4 separate regions of the Homo sapiens genome follow, and regions 1, 2 and 4 are each linked to region 3. Evidence: promoter capture Hi-C in 16 types of primary human blood cells and fetal thymus (Javierre and others, 2016). All regions are on one chromosome and are shown on one strand. Each heading gives the region's core, a stretch centred on a gene start or on the middle of the fragment in contact. The rest is flanking DNA. Distances are from core to core; before and after follow the strand shown.

What was found. The method cuts DNA at HindIII sites, captures the fragments that hold promoters and counts their contacts. A CHiCAGO score of 5 or more calls a contact.
Region 1: a fragment that was not itself captured here is called in contact with the fragment with the promoter of CYTL1 in region 3 in 1 of 17 cell types (monocytes); the score reaches 5.4 in monocytes.
Region 2: a fragment that was not itself captured here is called in contact with the fragment with the promoter of CYTL1 in region 3 in 5 of 17 cell types (M2 macrophages, megakaryocytes, monocytes and 2 more); the score reaches 12.8 in M2 macrophages.
Region 4: a fragment that was not itself captured here is called in contact with the fragment with the promoter of CYTL1 in region 3 in 5 of 17 cell types (M2 macrophages, M0 macrophages, monocytes and 2 more); the score reaches 8.5 in M2 macrophages.

The regions. Positions count from the first base shown.
Region 1 is chr4:5,737,390-5,740,089 of GRCh38, forward strand. The region is part of intron 5 of EVC (EvC ciliary complex subunit 1); the gene reads left to right. Among named protein-coding and RNA genes, the nearest start is that of EVC, 28 kb to the left of the region's middle. The HindIII fragment of the contact is 2,520 bases long and covers 119-2,638 here.
Region 2 is chr4:5,808,336-5,811,035 of GRCh38, forward strand. It overlaps EVC (EvC ciliary complex subunit 1), which reads left to right. Exons shown (of 21, transcript NM_153717.3): 19 at 1,183-1,276; 20 at 2,004-2,115; 21 at 2,618-2,700. Among named protein-coding and RNA genes, the nearest start is that of CRMP1, 83 kb to the right of the region's middle. The HindIII fragment of the contact is 3,963 bases long and covers 1-2,700 here.
Region 3 is chr4:5,018,148-5,020,847 of GRCh38, forward strand. CYTL1 (cytokine like 1) reads right to left here and starts at 1,311. Exons shown (of 4, transcript NM_018659.3): 1 at 1,146-1,311. The coding sequence starts at 1,298. It also overlaps a transcript of STK32B not described here. The HindIII fragment of the contact is 2,032 bases long and covers 775-2,700 here.
Region 4 is chr4:5,784,844-5,787,543 of GRCh38, forward strand. All of the region lies in intron 12 of EVC (EvC ciliary complex subunit 1), which reads left to right. Among named protein-coding and RNA genes, the nearest start is that of EVC, 75 kb to the left of the region's middle. The HindIII fragment of the contact is 4,182 bases long and covers 1-2,700 here.

The DNA of each region.
Region 1 (2,700 bases), core at 129-2,628, 720 kb after region 3:
AGGTGGCTGCACTAAACAACAGATTTTCAATGCAGATGAAATAGCACAATATGGTCATGGAAGAAGATGCCATCTAAGACTTCATAGCTAAAGAGGAGAAGTCAATACCTGGCTTCAAAGCTTCAAAGAACAGGCTGACTCTCTCGCTAGGGGCTAATGCGGGAGATGACTTTAAGTTGAAGCCAGTGCTCATGCACCACTCCGAAAGTCCTAGGGCCCTTAAGGGTGATGCTAAATCTACTCTGCCTGTGCTCTATAAGTGGAACAACAAAGCCTGGATCACAACACAGCTGTTTATAGCATAGTTTAAGCCCACTATTGACACCTACTGCCCAGAAAATAAACTTCTTTTCAAAATGTTACTGGTCATTTTCAAAACCCCTGGTCACCCGAGAGCTCTGATGAAGATGTACAAGGAAGTTAATGTCATTTTCATGCCTGCTAACACAACATTCATTCTGAGCCTATTGATTAAAGAGTAATTTCAACTTTCAAGTCTTATTATTTAAGAAATACATTTCCTAAGGCTCTAACTGCCATACATAGTGATTCCTCTGAAGGATTTGAACAATGTAAATTGAAAACCTTCTGGAAAGGATTCACCATTCTAGATGCCATTGAGAATATTCATGATTCATAGGAGGAGGTCAAAATATCAACATTAACAAGAGTTTGGAAGAGGTTGATTTCAATCCTCATGAATGACTTTGAGGGGATTCAGAACTTCAGTGGAGGAAGTCATTGGAAATGTGGAAATAGCAAGAAAACTAGGATTAGAATTGGAGCCTGAAGATGGGACTGAGCTGCTGCAATCTCATGATGAAACATGACTGGATGAGGAGCTGCTTCTGATGGATGAGCAATGAAAGTGGTTTCTAGAGAAGGAATCTGCTTCTGGTGAAGATGCTGTGAACATTGTTGAAATGACAAAAAGGATTTAGAATACTATGTAAACTTATTTGATAAAGCAGCTGCAGGGTTTGAGAGGATTGACTCCAAGTTTTAAAGTTCTACTGTGGGCAAATTGCTATCGAATAGCATGGCACGCTGCAGAGAAATCTTTTGTGAAAGGAAGAGTCAGCTGATGTGGCCCACTTCAGAGTGGTCTTATTTTAAGAAACTGCCACAGCCACCCTAACCTTCAGCAACCACTACCCTCATAAGTCAGTAGCCATCAACATTGAGACAAGACCCTCCACCAGCTAAAAGATTACAACTTTTTTTTTTTTTTTAAGACGGAGATCTCAACTCACTGCAAACTTTGCCTCCCAGATTCAAGTGATTCTCCCGCCTCAGCCTCCCGAGCAGCTGGGACCACAGGCGCGCACCACCTCGCCCAGACAATTTTTGCATTTTTAGTAGAGACGGGGTTTCACCATGTTGGCCAGGATGGGTCTCAATCTCTTGACCTTGTGATCCACCTGCCTCCGCCTCCCAAAGTGCTGGGATTACGGGTGTGAGCCACCGCACCCAGCCCAACAACTTTTTTTTAATAATCATCTTAGGCTCAGATGATCATTAGCATTTTTTAGGAAGAAGTTATTTTTAAAATTAAGGTATGTACTTTTTTAGACATACTGCTATTGTACACTTAGACTACAGTATAGTGTAAACATAGCTTTTATATGCACTAGAAAACCAAAAAATGTGTGCGGCTTGCTTTATTGTGATATTCACCTTACTGAGGTGGCCTGAAATCAACCCTACAATACCTCCATGGTATGCTTGTATTATTTTTGTACCTTCATTTGAATCTATAACTATCTCAAAGTTGGCACTATGGAAAGGGAGAGGATGAGGGCTGTAAACATTACTGATTTATTTGGGGTCAGGAAGAAAGTAGACTCGAAACTAACATCTTGCAAAAATAATGTTATTATATCTTATACCATATCAGTCTTCAGTGAGTAGAAAGCCAGGACACCACTTTCTCCTTAGAGCTCATTGTCATTGGCAAATATAATGAAGGTTGGTGGGCAGAATTCTGGGTTCAAATCTCAGCTCTGTCGCATGTGGCTGTGTGGCAGGAGGCAAGTGGCCCCTGCAAGTTGCTGGGCATTTTCTCATCTGTAAAATGCGGAAGATGGTACCAACCTCCCCGCATGCCATGGAGATCAAGTGATAGTATGTATAATACATACATTAGGCTGGCCCAGAAGAGTGATTAACAAGCCTTAATCCATTAAAAGAAGGATCAAAAACTGTGGCCCTTGAGCCAAATCTGGCCATGTCCTTCTTTTCCATATTGCCTGTATGCCTGTGTGGCATATGCCACAACCGCAGAACTGAGTAGTTGCAAAAGAGATCATATGGCCTGCAAAGCCAAAAAAAATTTGCTGTTTCACCCTTTACTGAAAAAGTTTGCTAACCCCTGCATTTAAAAATGCCTTACCAGGCGGGATGCAGTGACTCATGCCTATAATCCCAGCACTTTGGGAGGTGGAGGCAGGCAGGTTGCATGAGTTCAGGAGTTCGAGACCAGCCTGGGCAACACAGAGAAACCCCATCTCAAAAAAAAAAAAAAAAGCCTTACCGGTTCACCAAAGAAAAAGAAAATGCCTTATTATATCTAAATGACCATATTATATCTAAATGACCTTTGACAAAGAGGCAAAAGCACTTCAATGGAGGAATGATAAGCTTTTCAATAAATGGTACTGGAGCAATTGGACATCCATAAACAATAACAACGACAAAAGA
Region 2 (2,700 bases), core at 98-2,597, 790 kb after region 3:
TACAGAACTGGACCTTCCAAAAGCAGTGGTTTAAAGAGGAGCAGAAATAGCTGAAGCCAGCCTGTGACCACACGTCAGCCATGGGGACTGCACTTCCCTGCCTGTGGCATCGTTGACCCGCTGAGTCTCACCTGCTGAGGGTGTGTCGGCCTCGCCTTAGGACCCTGAGCCCCTGGAGGGCAAGTGTGGCCTGTGTGGATCCCTACAGCAGCTGCAGCATGCTAAGCAGGGCCAGGCCCTGAGCAGCTGGTCAGGCCTCATCTATGGAGCTGACAGAGAATTGAGCATTCCCCTGTGTGCGCATGGCCACCAGGAGGCTTCCGGTGTAATGGTGACCTCTGTGTCACTCAGGCAGTGTTGGCGATAGCTAAAGTTTACACTTTATTTACAGCAAACAGGAAGCTCAGCTCTCATGATATAAAGTGCATATTTCATTACAGAAAATCCCATTTGTGTGAGGTTATACAGTGAGATGTAAGGTGAGAGTATAAAGTGTGGCTAAGCAAAGTGGCTGCCTTTAAAAAAATCAAATCTTCCAGAATGGAAGCATTTAGCAGAGTGTTGGCCCTTTCAGAGTGTTCTCCACTGGCGATGGCAGTCGCAGAGTGACAGTGGTAAGAATACAGCAGTGGTGGCCGATAGGTACTTATTGAGGGTCTATGATAGATAGTCATGAGCTGAGAGCTTTGCACACACTTTCCAACAAAAGAGGTTACTGCTACTGTCCCCATTACAGATGGACAAACTGAGGCATGCACAGGTTACGTTGCTATCCAGGGTCACACAGTTAATGCATCATGGAATTCTGGTGTGTTTGTTTACACCACAGTGTTGGAAGTTTAGAGCCCAGCCTGTGGAGTCGGGCAGAAGTGAGTCCCATCCTATTCTGCTGCACCTGCTCCGGGCAGGTCACTGAGGCCCTCTGACCTCAGTGTACTCTGTCAACTGAAGACCGACGGCCAGTGTGAGTGAGGACCCACAGTTATGCAGCAGGAGCTGGTAGATGCCAGTGTGTCCTCCTGCTCCTCTCCTCTCTGGGATGTATGTTGGAAAATTCTCCTCCACACGGGAGACGTGGTCTTCAGTGGCCAGCCTCAAGTGTCAGAATTCACTCACGTGGAGAGGGATTTAGAGAAGTCAGAGGGAGGCCCAGCTGAATGCTCCTCTCTGCTTGCATTTCAGGAAGCTGAACAGAACTTCATCTCCGAGCTGGCAGCCTTGGCCCGAGTGCCCCTTGCTGAAAGCAAACTGTTGCCTGCTAAGCGTGGGCTGCTAGGTGAGTCACAGATGCTTGAGTTGCAGCGGGAAGCACTCTGGGCTGAGAGATACGGATTCTAGTTCCACACTGGCCACTAACTAGCTGTGTGACCTTAGGCATCGTGCCTAGGCTCTCTGGGCTTTTGTGACCTTGTCTGTAAATGAGCAGGCTTGGCTAGGCCACCCCTCAGGCCCACTTGCTCTCTAGCATTTGATAATTCCAGTTCTTGGGTCTGGTGTTCACTGGCTGTGTCTCCTAACTGACTCCATTTTTCCATCTGTAAAGTGGGGATAAGCCCTCCTCCCACCCTTGCCAGCGACAACTTCAGTGACATCACAGGATTTTTTAACCTGGTAATGAGAGAGTGACTCAGAAGGTGGTGTGAGAACACAGAGATCTACTGAAACAAAAGCTGTCACACTGGTGCTGGGTTTTCAGTTGCTTGCTGCTTCATTAAGTCTTCCAGTCAGCTGGGTAGAGTGGATACCCAGCGGGAGCCTAGCAGACTGGAGCTCAAGCCACAGCTCTGCCACTTCCTGGCTTGTGCAGGCTTGGGAGAGTACGTCACCTTCCCAGGCCTCAGTTTCCTCATTAGTTGAGTGGCTGCAATAGCATAAGATACCAAGCATACACTTGGCCCACACAACATGCTCAAAAATGTCAGGCTGGGTTGGTGTGAGGCTGCAAGAAGTTGTCACTTGTCTAAAGTCACAGAGCCATGCCTGGGTTCATCTGTCCTCTACAGAGAAGCCCCTAAGGACTAAAAGGAAGAAGCCCCTGCCCCAGGAAAGAGGGGACCTGGGGGTGCCCAACAATGAGGACCTTGCCTCCGGGGACCAGACCTCAGGCTCACTCAGGTATGACTGGGCCCCGGACCTGTTGCCTGTGGCTGGGTTTGGTAAATGCACTCAGCTGCTGTGTGCCAAAAGTCAGGGCAGGAAAATCATCAGTCCCCTCAGAGGCATTAAATGTGAAGGTTCAAGAAATGACAGATATGAACGTAATTTGTGGGCAGTAAGCCATGATGATACCAGGGGTGCCACATGGCTGTTACCCTTCCTGTTTGTGTCTCATTTGGCCAGATGAGCCTTGACCTACCTCCACACCCCATTGGCATCCAGCCTGAAGTGTTGGGCAGTCCCTTCTTTGACCAGGGATGGCTGTGGTCATGGCACTTGGATGACCTCCTACCCAAGGAGGGAAACGGGTTTTATTGGTTTCTTAACAACCCATGTCAAAGTAAAAATTGTTTTGATCACCTTTGGCTGCATTTTCATTTAATCCGATTGGGTAAGTTATGGCATCATGATGGGCATGGAGTCAGCGTTCTAACTGGCTGCCTTTCTTCTCTGTTTTAAGCAGCAAAAGGCTGAGTCAGCAAGAAAGTGAAGCTGGGGACAGTGGGAACTCAAAGAAGATGCTAAAGAGAAGAAGCAACTTGT
Region 3 (2,700 bases), core at 61-2,560:
TCATTAAAAAGTAAGTTGCAAAACTGCTTGTGCTGTTTGACCCAAATTTTGTTTACACACACACACACACACAACACACACGTATTTGAATACCTATATGTAGACAGAAAGCTGAAATATGATCCTCCACAATGCTACGGCAGCAGCTACCTCTAGGTGGTAGAATTACAAGCAAGATTTTTTTTCTTCTTTGTACTTTATTTTCCAACTGTTCTACAAAGTACAATACTTTTATAATTAGGGAAAAAATACATGTTATTTAACTTTTAAAAAGAAAATACCAAGAAGGTGTTAGCTAGGCTTTTGTAAACCCCAACATCTGAGAAACATTATGTTTTGTTTGAAGCATTTGCAAGTGATTAAAAGACACTTTGAAACTTTACAAAAGCTTTTAATGAAGTTTAATGCATTTTGTTTCGACGGAGAAGCAGGCAGAGGCCTGGGTTCTAGTCCCCAAAAGCCCTCCCGGGTCTTCCCCTCTCTGAGTCCCCAGATCTGCCTCTGAAGATCGTGCTCACATCAGCTGGCATCTGTTGAGTACTTGTTCCTGTAGGCTTGGCTCTGTGAGCCCTGCCTGTGTTCACACCTGCCTTTGATCGTCAAAGCCACTCTAAAGGGAGGGGTGCTACTGTCATCCCATTTTACAGACAAGAAAACTGAAAGGCAGAGGCTGAGAAATTTGCCCGGGTCCCTCAGCAGATGAGGGGCGGAGGCCAGTTCTGTGAGCCACCTCTTAGGGCACACTCCTCACTAGGCTAACAAAAGCAATACACAAGCTTCATTCCTCCGTCCTCCTTAACTCTGATGGGGAGCTGTTTTTCTCCCCATCCTCCCACTCCTTTTTTTTTCTTTTTTCTTTTTTTTTTTTTTTTTTTTTTTTACATTTTACAACAGATCCTTTGATATTTGCTAGTAAGTCACAAAAATTGTGTTGTCTTTACTTTTTCTTGTGTTTTGAAGAAAGCAAACCATTGGTATCATATTTAAAAGGAGATGAATAAAACACAAATACTCCTGAGATTTACATTTACTAGAAAAGAAAAATATCCTTTTCTCTCTCTCTCTCTTTTTTTTTTCGTGTAAAGGCAAGGGTTTAAGAACTGGGTCTGCCATGCACCCCTGTCCTGAGCGGGCGGGGGACTCACCGAGGGCTCCGAGACCTGCAGGAGGTTGAAGTCGCGGGTGATCTCCTGGCTCAGGGCCCGCATGCGGGAGTAGCAGGTCGGGGGAGTGGGCCGCGCGGCGGGGGCTCCCGCCAGGAGCAGCAGCAGCACGGGCAGAGGCCCAGGCGTCCTCATGGTGCCAGGCGCTGGTGCAGCCTCGCCGACCGCCCCTTTATGCAGGCTGGGGGTGGTCCAGGGCGGCTCCACGCCTCCACTTCCTGTGGGGCCAGCGCAGGCTGCGGTCCATCCAGGGTGGCAGAGAGGAAGCCAGCACGCCCACCGGGCAGGGTCGGGACAGGAATCCTCTCAGACACGAAAGCCCCAGGTTAAGAGGAGGGGCTGCCTGGAGGAGGGGGTGACAGAGGGTGGCTTTGCCTCCCCCACACTTTCAGCAAGAAATTTCTTTCTGCACAGGGACTTTTCCTGAAAAGGCAGGAACAGCAGATGGAGAGGGGTGGGGGATAAGAGGAGGACAGAGATGGAAGGAGGGGAGGGTCAGAGGAGAGGAGTGGGCAGTCAGGCCTGGGTTTGGATGGCACGGTTTGTCAAAATGGATATAGTGCCAGGAGGGAAAGGGACTAGCAGGGGATGACTGAGCATCCCTCCCTCCAGGCAGCCCGCAGTGGAGCAGGGATGCAGAGCTGCGGTCAGGCCACCGGTGTCCTCGTCCATCAATCGCTAACCAGGTAGGTGAGCCTTGGGCCAGGGCCCCCAGCCTCTCAGAAGCCGTGTGTGTCTCTCGGTCCGGAGGATGGGCTCACTGAGCGGCCGTATGTGTGGGGAGTGTGAGTACCCCCACCCTCTTCTACCTCAAGCTCCCAGCACAGGCCCCGAGGGAGAGCAGACCCTCAGGAAGGGTTAGTTTTCAAGAAGTGCATCTCCCTCAGGGCTAACTTCCCAAGACAGTGGCAGGTAAAGGTCTAGGCTCTCCACTTAGACGCCGTGGGTGCAAAGCAGGGTCACCGCCTTCTGGCTTTGACCTTGGGCAAGTTTCTTCAGTGTTTCCTCCATCTCCTTATCTGTGAGATGAGGCTGGTGAGAGTGGCTCACTCAAAAGGCCATAGTGAGGAATCAACAGGATATAGCATGACTGAGCAAGCCTCATGCCAGGCCCATTGTGTGTTTCCAAGTGATCGGAGCTAATAGCACTGTCTCTGTTAAATCCAGCAATTGTCTCTGTGAGGTAGGTGCCACAGAAAAGAGTCCCATTTTCCAGGTGGGAAAACTGAGGCTCAAGAGTTCCAGCAACTTGCTGGAGGTCACAAAGCTGGAGGCACATGGGTTGGGATGAGACTTCAGGCCCTGTCCTCCTGCCATTCTTCCATCCCACAGGGCAGGATGGGTGAGGAGCAGGACTCTTGCAGGCAGAGATGAGTTGGGGTCCTCAGGCTGCCCAAGATCAGGCAACAAGCAAGAAGGAACTGTCAAAAGGGAGAAGATTCTTCCTTAACACTGAACATGACTTACATACCAGCAGCCACCAGGCCAGCTGCCATTGGGAACGCTATGACCCTCACAGCCAGCCAATGAAGTGAAT
Region 4 (2,700 bases), core at 3-2,502, 770 kb after region 3:
GTGATCTGCCCGCCTTAGCCTCCCGAAGTGCTGGGATTACAGGCATGAGCCACTGTGCCCAGCCCAGATTGATTTTATCTTTAAAAAATTAAAAACTGTTAAATTAAAGAAGGCATTTCCAAATTCAACATCCACCAAGACAGCCCACCAGTCCTTTCTCCCCTGCCTTCGGCCCTCTAGAGGCTGTGAAACTAACATCCTCAATATCCATATCCCTTGCAACTAGCCATGGCTGAGTGACACTGCTCTGGCCTTTGAAACAAAGCAAAGGGCTTCTGTTTCCTGATACCAGAGCCGGTTTTGCTTGGAGCAGCCCCCTTCTTCAGTGTCCCATTCTTCCTTCTTAGAACGCATGGGAGGCCTGGAGGTGCATCAGCCTTTCTCTGCCCTAGAGGCAGCCTGCGTGAGCCTGGTGGGCTCCAGATGGTGGAGCAGTCTCAGACAGCCCTGAGCCCCTGGCAGTGCTGTTAAGCCATTACCGCAGCCCTGAACCGCCTGCCCCTACATGCTTATTGTCAGAAACAAGCCCTGTTTCTTTAAGTTGGGTTTGCGATTAGTTACAAAAGACCAGTGTGACTGATGCATCCATCTGAAAGAGGTTTCCTAAAACAATTCCTTGGGGCAATAGAAAGTACAAAGTAGATAGAGGAGAGCGTTATGCAAACACATGACCACTCACAGCTGTGGGGACAGGCACAGGGCCTAGTTGCCTGCCCGAATGAATTCTTAGACCTCCTTCTAGTTCATTCAGTCCTCTGTCAGTGGCATCCGGTTGCCCTGTCGTAGGTGACTTGTCTGTCTCCTGCATTTGGCTATGAGTTCCTTGAGGACGGCAACCCTGATTTTCATCTTGACACCACCTATTCAAAGCCCAGTGGCTGCAATATGGTAAATGTTCAGGAAAACTTGTAGCATTTCCAGCAACAATAATGCAGCTTTGGAAATGATTACAGTGTTGCCTTTGCCCTGTATTCTTCGAAGGGATCTAAATGAAGCTGAATTCTTCCTATTCATTCCAAATCCTAGGCCGCAGACCAATTCATTTACAGTCTTTGGGGAGGGAGGAGGACCTGGGCCTCAGTGTCTCAGAAACCAGGTGAGCCTAATGGGCCTCTGAAGTGGACCCACTAAATGAGTGTAGGGGCCTTTTAGAGACCATTGTGGTTTTGCAGCCAGGCCCCTAACCTCAGAAGCCTAAGATATGGGTTTGAGCCAGAGCAGACACATTAATGGGCTGTGTGACTTTAGCCAGTGAGCTGACCTCTTGCAACTCTGTGATTTTACACAACTTGCTAAAAATGCCTCAGAACTACACCTTCTATGTGAAAACTAAGGGTCACAATATCCAAATGATTCCATTCAGATAATGCAAGTTAAGACCTTTTGCACAATATCTGTTGAATCATTTAATGGTATTGATAGTGAAGGAATCCAGAATTTCATTTCTGACAAAACACCTGTGATTCATCTAAAACTCTCTGGTTAGGAGTCTTAAGTTATTTTAGGCAAATAGACTATGCTCAGCTCTGTTTTGAATGTTTTATTTGTTTACTTTGTGAGCATACGATTGTGAATTTTTCTTGGCATGTGGGGAAGGTTTCTGGTTGAGTTTTGCATGCAGGAAGCAAGCAGGAGAGTTAATGACCTCATCAGCTGATTACATAAGTATGACCCAAGACTGTTTTCTCAAGGTGTCTATGTCACAGTTAATTTACTGATTACTTAACTGCCTTAAATTAACACATGATAGCCGGGTGCGGTGGCTCACGCCTATAATCCCAGCACTTTGGGAGGCCAAGACGGGCGGATCATGAGGTCAGGAGATCGAGACCATCCTGGCTAACATGGTGAAACCCCGTCTCTACTAAAAATACAAAAATTAGCCAAGTGTGATGACAGGTGCCTGTAGTCCCAGCTACTCGGGAGGCTGAGGCAGGAGAATGGCGTGAACCCGGGAGGCAGAGCTTGCAGTGAGCCGAGATCACGCCACTGAACTCCAGCCTGGGTGACAGAGCGAGACTCCGTCTCAAAAAAAAAAAAAAAAAAATTAACACACGATAGTTAGAGATCCACCTGCCATATTTCCTCATTGATGAAAAAAAGAGAAATGAGCTCTCTGTCATTCAGATGAATATTAGTCATGAGAAGAAAAGCACCAGCGAAGCTATTCATGGAAAATCAAAAACACATCGACTACAAATTGCCTTTCCCACATTGTTTTCTATCCAAAAAGACAGTGGGTCGTTTCATATCCCATTGCTCAGGGAAGTTATTAAAAATTAATGGAATTTGTGAATTACCCCGTTAGAACAGGTTGTAGAATGGTGTTTCTCAAAATTTAATCTGCTCTAATGCAGATTTCTGCTCTCAGTCCCCTTGCGGTAGGCAGCTATAATGGCCCCCCAGAGAGGCCCACATCCTAATCCCTAAAACCCGTGAATATGTCTGGTTACAAGGCAAAAAGGACTTTGCAAATCTTTGCGAATGTGATTAAGCAAAGGATCGTGAGATGGGGATATTCTCCCGATGATCTGGCTTGGCCCCATGTTATCACAAGGGTCCTTATAAGTGAAAAAGGAGCAGCAGTGCCAGAGTGAGGAGTGAGGAAGACTCTGCAGCCATTGCTGGACTTGAAGACGGAGGAAGGGGCTGTGAGCCCGGGAATGCAAGTGCCCTCTAGGAACTGGAAAGGGCAAGAAA